Regions from separate parts of the Homo sapiens genome. Here regions 1 and 2 are each linked to region 3. Evidence: promoter capture Hi-C in human tissues and cell types (Jung and others, 2019). All regions are on one chromosome and are shown on one strand. The core of a region is centred on a gene start or on the middle of the fragment in contact, and the rest is flanking DNA. Distances in the headings are between cores, read along the strand shown. Region 1 overlaps CTNNBL1 (catenin beta like 1). Region 2 overlaps LINC01746 (long intergenic non-protein coding RNA 1746). Region 3 holds the start of GHRH (growth hormone releasing hormone).

Region 1 (3,644 bases), core at 393-2,892, 450 kb before region 3:
GGCAATCAGACAGGTAAATGGCTACCTTCCAGAAAGATAAGCATCATGAAAGAAAGGAGCACCCCACAGAAGGCCAGGTTAAGCCCCTATTTGTGAGTGGTAGTTTCACTTGAAAGACTCATGATTAGTGGACAACAGTAATTGCTCAGATGTTCTCTAGTTCCCAGGATGGCAGTGGGGGGGGCAAAGAGATGCTAGAGGAAAAGCAACATGGAAAATATAGACTACTCAGGCTAAAATGATTTCTAGTATCTCACAGACTTCGGAATCTAGCAACAGAGCTCTAAAAAGTTTTGCAGTTCATCCAAAAATGACCAAGAATACGAATGCTTCATTCTTCCAACAACCTCAACTTTTCAAAACACCATTAAAAGAATGGGCAAAAAAGGCCTTAGAGGTTAGATATCATATCAAACAAACAATAACACTAAGGAGTGACAGCTGACACCAAGGAAAAGAATGTAAACTACACAAAGTAGGCACAAGAACTCAAAATCCCTACTATTCCACAGTGCAGAAGTAAAAGCTTTCCAGATTTCAAAAGGTCATGAGAGAATTCAGGCACAACTAACATGTATTCATAATGATGCTCCTGAGATCACAGTGTGTCCTACTGAGAAAGGCAAGAATGTTCATGTTTTAGAAAGCTCTCCATACAAAATGATGAAAAATACATGTTTTGCACATGGAAAAGAGGACGCATAATCAAGGACACAGCACTGCCTGACCCCGATTTTGTCACCAAGTTGTTGGGGTGCTAAAGTTATTTCCCTCTCTGGGCTCTCTGGTTTACCCATGTGTACAAAGAAGAAGCTGGAATAGATCGTCTTGCCACTTAAAAGCTTCAGTTACCTGGAAAGTCTGTTTCTGAAGGGCATCACATTTTCCAAAGACACCAGAGAAACAAGAAGTTAGTACAATTCAATACAATCTGTGCCACCTTTTTTAAAAAAGGAATCTCATTATGGGTTTCTTTCAGCTACAACCCTCAATCAATCGCAATGTCTTTTTCGTGTCCTCCTTTATTGCCGAGTTTCACTATTCTGTTAGTCCTTCGGCATCTCTACCTTCCCTTGCCCAATAGAGGTACTCCTGGCCAGAGCCCCCATTACGTGTTTCAGCTTCTCTGTGAATAACTATGCAAGCTTGAGATGCTCAAAAGTTTCCCCCATCATTAATCCTATTATGGAAGCATTGATGTTGAGAGCGTCTGCTAAAAGATAACATGACAAACTGTAGCTACAATTTGTTTCTTTTTATACAAAGCTGCAAAGAAAATCGCATTCCAACATTATATACCAGCAGAGGACTGGTGTGCTGCTAATGTTTAACTCTATCAAGGATCCCAAAAGAAAATTTAAACTGAGATGCTCTTAACTGGAAATAGGGGATTCAAATAAAGAAATGTCATCAACCCTCAATTTTATGTATTAACAGAATGAGCACATGAATAATGCCAAACATGAAGCTAGAATCTGCACTAAAAATAATGCCAGCAAAACTGTTCAAGAATCAATCATGCCTGCTTTTGGAATAAAGTCAGATATATTCAGAGAGAAGCATCATGATACTCTGCTTGGTTTCAACTCCCTCTTTTTTTTTGTTTGTTTTTTTGGACGGAGTCTTGCTCTGTTGCCAGGCTGGAGTGCAGTGGCGCGATCTCGGCTCACTGCACCCTCCACCTCCCAGGTTCAAGCAATTCTCCTGTCTCAGCCTCCTGAGTAGCTGGCACTACAGGTGCATGCTACCATGCCCAACTAATTTTTGTATTTTCAGTAGAGACAGGGTTTCACCATGTTGGCCAGGATGGTCTCGATCTCTTGACCTCATAATTCGCCCACCTCGGCGTCCCAAAGTGCTGGGATTACAGGTGTGAGCCACCGCGCCTGGCCAGTTTCAACTCCTTCTTAGTTCAGTGACTCTAGATATTGCTGGGTAGCTGTTGAAAGGAAGTACAAAGAGCCAGTGCACATAATCTGCTTACAAGCAGCTGATAATCCAAAGTGAGTTAAAAGATAGAAAGGCACTGCAGTAGTCTCACTAGATCCTTCACTGAACTCCAGGATGAAGAAAAGCTAATTTCCATTTACCAACCCACAATGGAGCTGGAATTCTAAAGTTTAGGCTAAAACATTTTCAGATCAGTCACTGCTGGAATTCTATGGAAAAGAAACTAGTTCTGAACTACAAGCATACCTCATTTTTTTCCCCCTTTGCAGATACTGTGCTTTTTACAAATTGAAGATTTATAGAAACCCCGCATCAAGAAAGTCTATCAGCTGGGCGCGGTGGCTCACACCTGTAATCCCAACACTTTGGGAGGCTGAGGTGGGCAGATCACTTGAGCCCAAGAGTTTCAGACCAGACTGGGCAACATGCCAAAACCCCATCTCTACAAAAAATACAAAAATTAGCTGGGCATGGTGGCACACACCTGTAGTCCCAGCTAATCTGGGATTGCTCGAGCCCATGAGGTCAAGGCTGCAGGGAACCATGATCCTGCTGCTGTACTCCAGCCTGGGCAATAGAGCCAGACTCTACCTCCAAAAAAAAAAAAAAGAAAGTCTATCGCTGCCATTTTTCCAAAATCATGTGTTCACTTCATGTCTGTGTCACATTTTGACAATTACTGCAATGTTTCAAACTTTTTCATTATTATCATATCTGCTATGGTAATCCGTGATGAGTGATCTTTAATATTACTACTTTGTTTTCAGGCACTACAAACACGCCCACGTGAGACAGCGAACTTAATGAATAAATGTGTGTGTTCTGAGTGCCTCAACCAGCCTTTCCTCTTTCTCTCTCTCTCTCTCTCTCCTCAGGTCTCCCTATTCTCTGAGACACAACAATACTGCAATTAAGTAATTAATAACCCTACAATGGCCCTAAGTGTTCAAGTGAAAGAAAGAGTCTCACATCTCTCACTTTAAATCAAAAGCTATACATGATTAAGCTTTAGTGAGGAAAGGATGTTGAAAGCGGCAATGGGCCGAAAGCGAGGCCTGTTATACCAGACAGAAAAGCGTGAATGCACAGGAAAAGCTCTTGAAGGATATTAAAAGTGCTACTCCAGTAAACATATGAATAGTAAAAGAGCTAAAGAGCCTTACTGCTTATATGGAGAAAGTCTTAGTGCTCTGGACAGAAGATCAAACCAGTCACAACATTCTCTTGAGCCAAGCCTAATCCAGAGCAAGGCCCTAACTCTCTTCAGTTCTATGAAGGCTAAGAGAGGTGAGGAAGCTGCACACAAAGTTTGAAGCTAGCAGAGGCTTATTCATAAGGCTTAAGGAAAGAAGCCACTTCCATAACATGAAAGCGCAAGGTGAACCCAGAAGTGCTGATGTAGAAGCTGCAGCAAGTTAGTCAGAAGAATTAGCTAAGATCATTGATGAAGGTGGCTACACTAAACAACAGATTTTCAATGTTGACAAAACAGCCTTCTGTTGGAAGAAGAGGCCATCTAGGATTTTCACAGCTAGAGAGAAGTCAATGCCTGGCCTCAAAGCTTCAAAGGACAGGCTGATGCTCTTCTTAGGGACTAATGACTTTTAAATTGAAGCCAATGCTCATTTAGCATTTTGAAATCCTAGGGCCCTTGGGAATTATGCTAAATCTACCCTGCCTGTGTTCTAGAAATG
Region 2 (3,404 bases), core at 386-2,885, 320 kb before region 3:
GGTTGGGCTCAGTGGCTCACACCTGTAATCCCAGCACTTTGGGAGGCCAAGGTGTGTGGATCACCTGAAGTCAGGAGTTCGAGATCAGCCTGGCCAACATGGCCAAACCCTGTCTCTACTAAAAATACAAAAATTAGCCAGGTGTGGTGGTGCATGCCTGTAGTCCCAGCTACTCGGAAGGCTGAGGCAGAAGAATCACTTGAACCCAGAAGGTGGAGGTTGCAGTGAGCCAAGATCACACCACTGCACTCCAGCCTGGGTAAGAGAGTGAGACTCCACCTCAAAACAAAATGAAACAAAACAACACCACTAAAGGTGAATGAAGAAGAGAGGTTGGCGGGACCAAGTTGGGACTCATATTCTGCTCTCTCTGCCCAAATGCTCCTGCATAGCCCTGAAGGATTTCAAATCCTTTATGAAGTCTAGTGCCTGCCCTGCTTACAGGCCCCAGGTACTGGCTGGGTTCCCAGTGGCCATCTCTCCAGCTGAGATATGTGTGTTGGAGCCGGGGGAGTGGAGAAGCCAGCTTCGGGGTGGGAAGCCCATCTGGCAGATTCTGGCTGGAGTAGGGGGCAGTGGCGGGGCAGCCTCCTGCTCATCAGCCTTTCCACTGTGGAGTCAGTCAAGCGTTCCTCCCTCCAAGGAGTGGTGGCTGTCAGGCGTGTCCAAACTGCACTCCTGGCTGCCTCAATTTTGCATCCCCTAGGTAGCGCAGACACCATGAATGGACCAGAGATTGAATGCAAAATCAAAATGCAGCAAATAAATGGATGCAAAAGTCATTTGGAGCCAATAATAAGAACCACCTCCAGACTCAGAAGCAGGGAAAGTTGCACAGAGGCTGAGCTGGCCTGGCTGCTGGTGGAGAAGGGATGTTAGTTTGGGCACCCCTTCCCCGGCTTCACTGGCCCCAACACTCCTCTCACTGATCCACGTCGCTGGATGGTCTCCAAGGTTACTCAGGGTACAGACAGGGAAAATGAGACTTGGGGCCAGGTGCGATGGCTCATGCCTGTAATCCTAGCACTTTGGGAGGCCAAGCCAGATGGATCACCTGAGGTCAGAAGTTTGAGACCAGCCTGGCCAACATGGTGAAACCCCGTCTCCACGAAAAATACAAAACTTAGGCTTGGTGGCACATGCCTGTAATCTCAGCGACTTGGGAAGCTGAGGCAGGAGAATCACTTGGAATCACCTGGAAGGCGGAAGTTGCAGTGAGCCGAGATGGTGCCACTACACTCCAGCCTGGGCAACAGAGCGAGACTCCATCTCAAAAAAAAAAAAGAGAGAGAGAGAGACTTGTAAACAGAGGATAGATACAACCCAAGATACCCAAAGAGTTAGGGCCCTAGACTCAAACAGATCTGAGTTTTGATTCAGCTCTTCCAATTTCCAGCACACGTGACCTTCAGCAAGTCACCTAATCTGCAATTGCTCTCATCACTTTAGTTGGGCAGGCCAAAGGTAAAATATTGGAGCGTGGAAAGGCACTAAGCACTGAACAGAGATGGAGCACCAAATATGCACTTGTGAGGGCAGGTCTCATTCACTTCTCCATCCCAAGGCCTCCGCTGTGCCCAGCACACAGTAGGTGCTCAATGCATATCTGTTGAAGTCATGGATGGTGCAATGACTGCGTTAGGAACTAGGAGCAGAGTTCTAATTTGTTTGCTGATATAGCCCTAGAGCCCTAAACAGTGCCTGGCACATAGTAGGTGCTCAGTAACAGTGGTCCCCAATCTTTGTGGCACAAGGGACAGCTTTCATGGAAGACAATTTTTCCAAGGACCGGTGTGGGGTTGGGGGAAGGAAGGTTTCAGGATGATTCCCGGATGATTAAAGCACATTACATTTATCGTGCACTCTATTTCTATCACATTGTAATATAGAATGAAATAATTATACAACTCACCATAATGTAGAATCAGTAAGAGCCCTGAGCTTGTTTTCCTACAACTAGATGGTCCCATCTGGGGGTGATGGGAGACAGTGACAGATCATCAGGCGTTAGATTCTCATAAGGAGTGTGCAACCTAGATCCCTCGCATGCACAGTTCACAATAGGGTTCGCCCTCCTGTGAGAATCTAATGCCACCACTGATCTGACAGGAGGTGGAGCTCAGGCAGTAATGTGAGCAATGGGGAGCAGCTGTAAATACAGATGAAGCTTTGCTTGCTTGTCCCCCGCTCACCTCCTGCTATGTGGCCTGGGGGTTGAGGATCCCTGCTCAATGATACACACATTAATGAATTTGGTTTTAAACACCAACTTTGTCCTTCCCCTAGTTGCCATCATTGAAGAGCCCCAGCACCCCAAGCACCCCAGCCTGGGCTCCTGGGGGCTGCAAATTGAACTTCATGTGTCTTAGTGCCCAGAGAGGGAAGGAAAACGTTATACTAACATCTGGTAGTCACAGGTACCAACAAGGCACTTCATGGGTTACAAAGCAGGTTCCCATGGAATGTCTTTGCTGATCTCCAGTCAGTTTCACAGATGGAGAAAGAGAAACTCAAAAGATGAGGTGACTTGCGCAGGGTCACAAGGTATGTCAAGCAGAGATGGCTGGGATTGAAATGGCAAATCCTTTCTCTTTGTATCATTCATTCCTCTAACCAGTTATAACAAGTACCTCCCAGTGGGATCATGATGGGGCTCAGACAGGCACTGGTCCCCACTATGGAAGGAGTGAGGGTCCTGGGTCAGCAGGCTGAAGGCCAAGGCCCACCCTGGGCCACCAAGAGCTGTGGAGACAGGGAAGTGAAGAGCAGGATGAGAGACAAGTGGAGAAGCCTCTGGCTAGGTCATCCGGGCAGCTAGGACAAAGCAGAGAGACTAGAAGGGGCAGAGAGAAAGGCAATTACACCAGGAACATCTATTAAGCACTCACTGTATGCCAGGCACTGAGGATATGGCAGTGAGCAAGGCAAACAAGGAACTCACATGCTGGTGGGGAGACAGACTCTGGTTTGTAATTACTCACTGCAAGTAGAAGTGGGGGCTCTGAAGGCAAGGAGCATGGTTTCCAGGAGGACACGGGGACATAAGTTAGGCCTGGAGGGTCAGGGAGGGCTTCTTGGAAAAGGTGGTGCTTGGGCAGAGATCTGGAGGATGATAAGAGAAGGAGGGAGGGAGAGACAGAGACAAGGAGTGGGAAAGACGAGAGTAGGGGGAAGAAACTGACAAAGTCAGAGGAAGAGTTTGAGGACCCAGTGCAGTGGCTCACACCCAACACTCTGGGAGGCCGAGGCAGGTGGATCACCTGAGGCCAGGAGTTTGAGACCAGCCTGACCAACATGGCGAAACCCCATCTCTACTAAAAATACAAAAATTAGCCGGGCGTGGTGGTGCACACGTGTAGTCCCAGCTACTCAGGAGGCTGAGGCATGAGAATCACTTGAACCCA
Region 3 (3,696 bases), core at 169-2,668:
CCCAGGCTGGAGTGCAGTGGCACGATCTCGGCTCACTGCAACCTCCACCTCCCGGGTTCAAGCAATTCTCCTGCCTCAGCCTCCTGAGTAGCTGGGATTACAGGTGCCCACTACCACACCCAGCTAATTTTTGTATTTTTAGTAGAGACGGGGTTTCACCATGTTGGTCAGGCTGGTCTCGAACCCCTGACCTCATGATCCACCCGCCTCAGCCTCCCAAAGTGCTGGGATTACAGGTGTGAGCCACTGCACCCAGCCAGGTAGAAGTAACTTCCTAAGGGTCACAGAGGTCATGATTGACAGGCTTGGGAGAGGCAGCAGGTCCCTAGACTCGAGGCTTGGAGCTCTTTCCACACCTCCACGACGGCCGCCTGGGAAACCAGAGCTTCTGCCTCCTGTGCTTTTATGTCATTCCTGAGGATTTCTTAGCTATAGGCTAGAGAAATCTGGAAACACAACAACTCTCCCAAGGTTTTCCATCTCTTCCCTCTCATTTCACACTTCTCTGAGGCAACTGCCAATGTCTGGCTGCCTTGACAGGTGACGACGGATGCCCCCAGGCTAGCTGTTGAAATCAGCCTGTGACCAAGCAGGTGTAAATCAAATAGTGCAGAATTCTGATAATTGGACGACAAGGGAGATAGGGAACAAATTCCCCACTAAGGAGAGAATAACGCTTATTCATAATGTTGTCTACCCAAAAGTGAAATAAAATTACACAGGGACAAAGCTAAATTATATGAACTTTTGAAAAGGCACATTTATCTTGGAGAATCAATAAACTCTTGGTGTTTCACTGTTATGAGTTCTCCAATTATTTTTAACACATATTTTTTCTTTTTTTAAAAAATATATATTTTGAGATAGAGTCGTGCTCTGTCACCCAGGCTGGAGTGCCATAGCGTGGTCTTGGCTCACTGCAACCTCCGCCTCCCAGGCTCAGGTGACACTCTTGCCTCAGCCACCTGAGTAGCTGGGACTATACCCATGTGCCAACATGCCCAGCTAATTTTTAATTTTTTTCTAGAGACAGGGTCTCATTATGTTGCCCAGGTTGGTCTCAAACTTCTGAGCTCAGGCAATCCACCCGCCTCAGCCTCCCAAAGTGCTAGGATGGCAGGTGTGAGCCACCGCGCCCAGCCGAGTTCTCCAATCACTATTATAGCAGTATATATTCTCTATATCCTCTTGGAATAATGTTACACCTTTGTACTATGTCCACTGTGCCAAAGATAAAAGGAGACTTTACCAGGAGTCTAAGTCTGCAAGGGGCCAAACCTCTTTCACCAACAGGGTTTGTCAGTGTGATATGATGCTAAAAACAGTCCTTTGGTTGACTTGTGGGTAATTGATTCTCTGACGCTGACAACGCTTAGGAAAATGAAGAGATAAATGATGGGAACGCCAGGCGGCTGCCAGAGCAAACACCCAGCCCAGGGCCCCTGGATTTGAGCAGTGCCTCGGAGCAGAGGGATATCTGCCGCATCAGGTGAGAGGGGTGGCCCTGGGGGGGCTAGGCTGGGTGGGGGTAAGAAAAGTTAACCTTCTCACCAACTTAGAAACACTGAGTCCAAGAGGCCCACCGCCATCCTCTTTGCCCATGGACTGGTGAGTACATTTGAGCCCCTCTCTGGATAAAATCACCCCTCAATAGGGGCTCTGGAATAGGCTTTTGATGGTGCTGTTTGGGGCTTGTCTTAACTTGGGCGCGTGGCGGACTGGCTCCAGGTGTCTGTCGCAGGTGGTGAGGTCTCAGTGCTCCTTCGAGGATGCGTGGGCAGGCTTCGGGGGCAAACGTGAGTTGGCTCGATTTTCCTGTCAGCGATGGGATTCTGCCATGGATCAGAGATGAGCCAAGTGGCTGTGCAAATCAATACTGCTCATTGATCACTCAGAACTGATTCAATGTAATTGCCGGGAAATTGATAACATTTTGCTTTCTTGCTCAATTGCAGCCACACTCTTTACTCCAGGTTTTAGACACAATTATCTGCCTTTGGAGTCCTCCGCTACCCCACGCCTGTCTCCTGATCCTTGCTTTAATGGTCCTGAAGTATTTGTGTCTTTCACCATAGACTGCCTCAAACCCCTTCTGGAAGGAGGTGGAGTGTCACTCTTTTGAATGACAGTTCAAGATGCTTCCTCATTAAAAACTTAGATTTCTTTTAACTTGGAATGCTGTCACTGAAACAGTTTATAAACCAGATCAGGAAGTCTATGCTTTGGGGTGCTCAAATTTCAAAGGGGGATATTCAAGGAAGGTTAAAGATGTTCTTTCCCTGGGTTTTCAAAAATGGCCTTGCGAATTTGGGTGCTTGAGACCTGACCTCTGTCAGCTGCAGGTGAATCTGCAGAATTCTCCTGGCATTCCTGGCATGAAAGCTGGCAAAAGGTGCCAACGGATGTAGATCAAGTGCCCGTTTATCCTGAATCCAGGCAATCTCAAGTACATCTAATCCCAGAATCAGTAAGCACTGCAGGAAGCTAACCGATGATCATAATGATAGATTATAAACTCTGGAGTGCCTTCAGTCATCAGGGTTGCCAGCAATGCTGTTGGGCTCGGCTACACTTCATTCAGTGAATTTTGACTCCTTAAGTTGTCATGTGGAATGTGTCTGTTGACAGCTATTTTATTTTATTCTTTGAGATGGGGTCTTGCTCTGACATTTAGGCTACTGTGCAGTGGCACTATCATGGATCACTGCAGCCTTAACCTCCCGGGCTCAAGCAATCCTCCCACATCAGCCTCCAGAGTAGCTGGGACTACAGGCATGCGCCACCATGCCTAGATAAGTTTTTTTTTGTTTTGTTTTGTGTGTTTTTTTTTTTGTAGAGATGGGGTCTCGCCATGTTGCTCAGGCTGGAGCTATTTTATCCTTAGTGACATAACCTCTATTCTTCTTATCTTACCCTACACTGGATAATTCTTGTTTCCCATTTTCATCCAGTGGGATCTGCAAACCCATGGATTCGGTTCTCATAGCTCAGAGGTTGCTGTGGGGTCTTGACCTATGCCTGGGGCACAGGATTTGTGGCAAATGTTGAGCCTCTTGGTTAACTTGTGCAGTTGCTGAGCCTTATCTTGAATGAGCGGGGTATTGTGTTTACTATGACTTGCCCTCCCCACCAAAGTCTGCCCTCCTATGAGGTTGTTTCAACTCCCTGAAACTACTGGGTGTGCATAGGGAGGGGCCAATCAAGCAGGTGTTCCTGTTTGTCCCTGTTCTTTCTTCCCCAGAGGCCCAACAACAAAGAGCAAGAAGCTTTCCTTTTTTTCAGACCCTTTCCCACGTGCAGGTGATGGAGGCTGAGGATCCCTGTGAATGGGGAATACTGTGAATAGAGCATTGTACCTGGGAGGCTGCTGCATGGAGCGGAAGGAAGTCTGCCGGCCTGGGAATGAGGAGGCCCACTCTGAAGTGCCCACTCCAAAACTAATTTGATGGAGGATCATGGAAAATGTCCTTGTCCTCTCTAGGCTCTTTTCCTTGGCTGTAAGAGGAGCATGGGGATGCCTGCTCCAGAGGGAGAGTGCAAGGATGGGTTGTGGAGCCTGATAGGGCACAGGGGCTGGGAATCACTTGTGCCAGCCCTTGGGAGAAGGGGCAGGCAGAGGGAGAGCTTAAGCCAAGAGAAGGGGTTTGAGCTTTATTCTGGAAGGAGTGGGGAGCCAAGGGCTTCTGAGCAGGGGAG

Evidence for each region. The method cuts DNA at HindIII sites, captures the fragments that hold promoters and counts their contacts. A contact is called where the count stands out against the background at its distance.
Region 1: a fragment that was not itself captured here is called in contact with the fragment with the promoter of GHRH in region 3 in 1 of the 25 tissues and cell types used here (H1 embryonic stem cells).
Region 2: a fragment that was not itself captured here is called in contact with the fragment with the promoter of GHRH in region 3 in 1 of the 25 tissues and cell types used here (thymus).

What each region holds. Positions count from the first base shown.
Region 1 is chr20:37,707,105-37,710,748 of GRCh38, reverse strand. The region is part of intron 1 of CTNNBL1 (catenin beta like 1); the gene reads right to left. Among named protein-coding and RNA genes, the nearest start is that of CTNNBL1, 15 kb to the right of the region's middle. The HindIII fragment of the contact is 3,185 bases long and covers 50-3,234 here.
Region 2 is chr20:37,576,438-37,579,841 of GRCh38, reverse strand. The region is part of intron 2 of LINC01746 (long intergenic non-protein coding RNA 1746); the gene reads right to left. Among named protein-coding and RNA genes, the nearest start is that of LINC01746, 7.0 kb to the right of the region's middle. The HindIII fragment of the contact is 3,072 bases long and covers 100-3,171 here.
Region 3 is chr20:37,259,536-37,263,231 of GRCh38, reverse strand. It overlaps GHRH (growth hormone releasing hormone), which reads left to right and starts at 1,418. Exons shown (of 5, transcript NM_021081.6): 1 at 1,418-1,489. The HindIII fragment of the contact is 8,848 bases long and covers 1-3,612 here.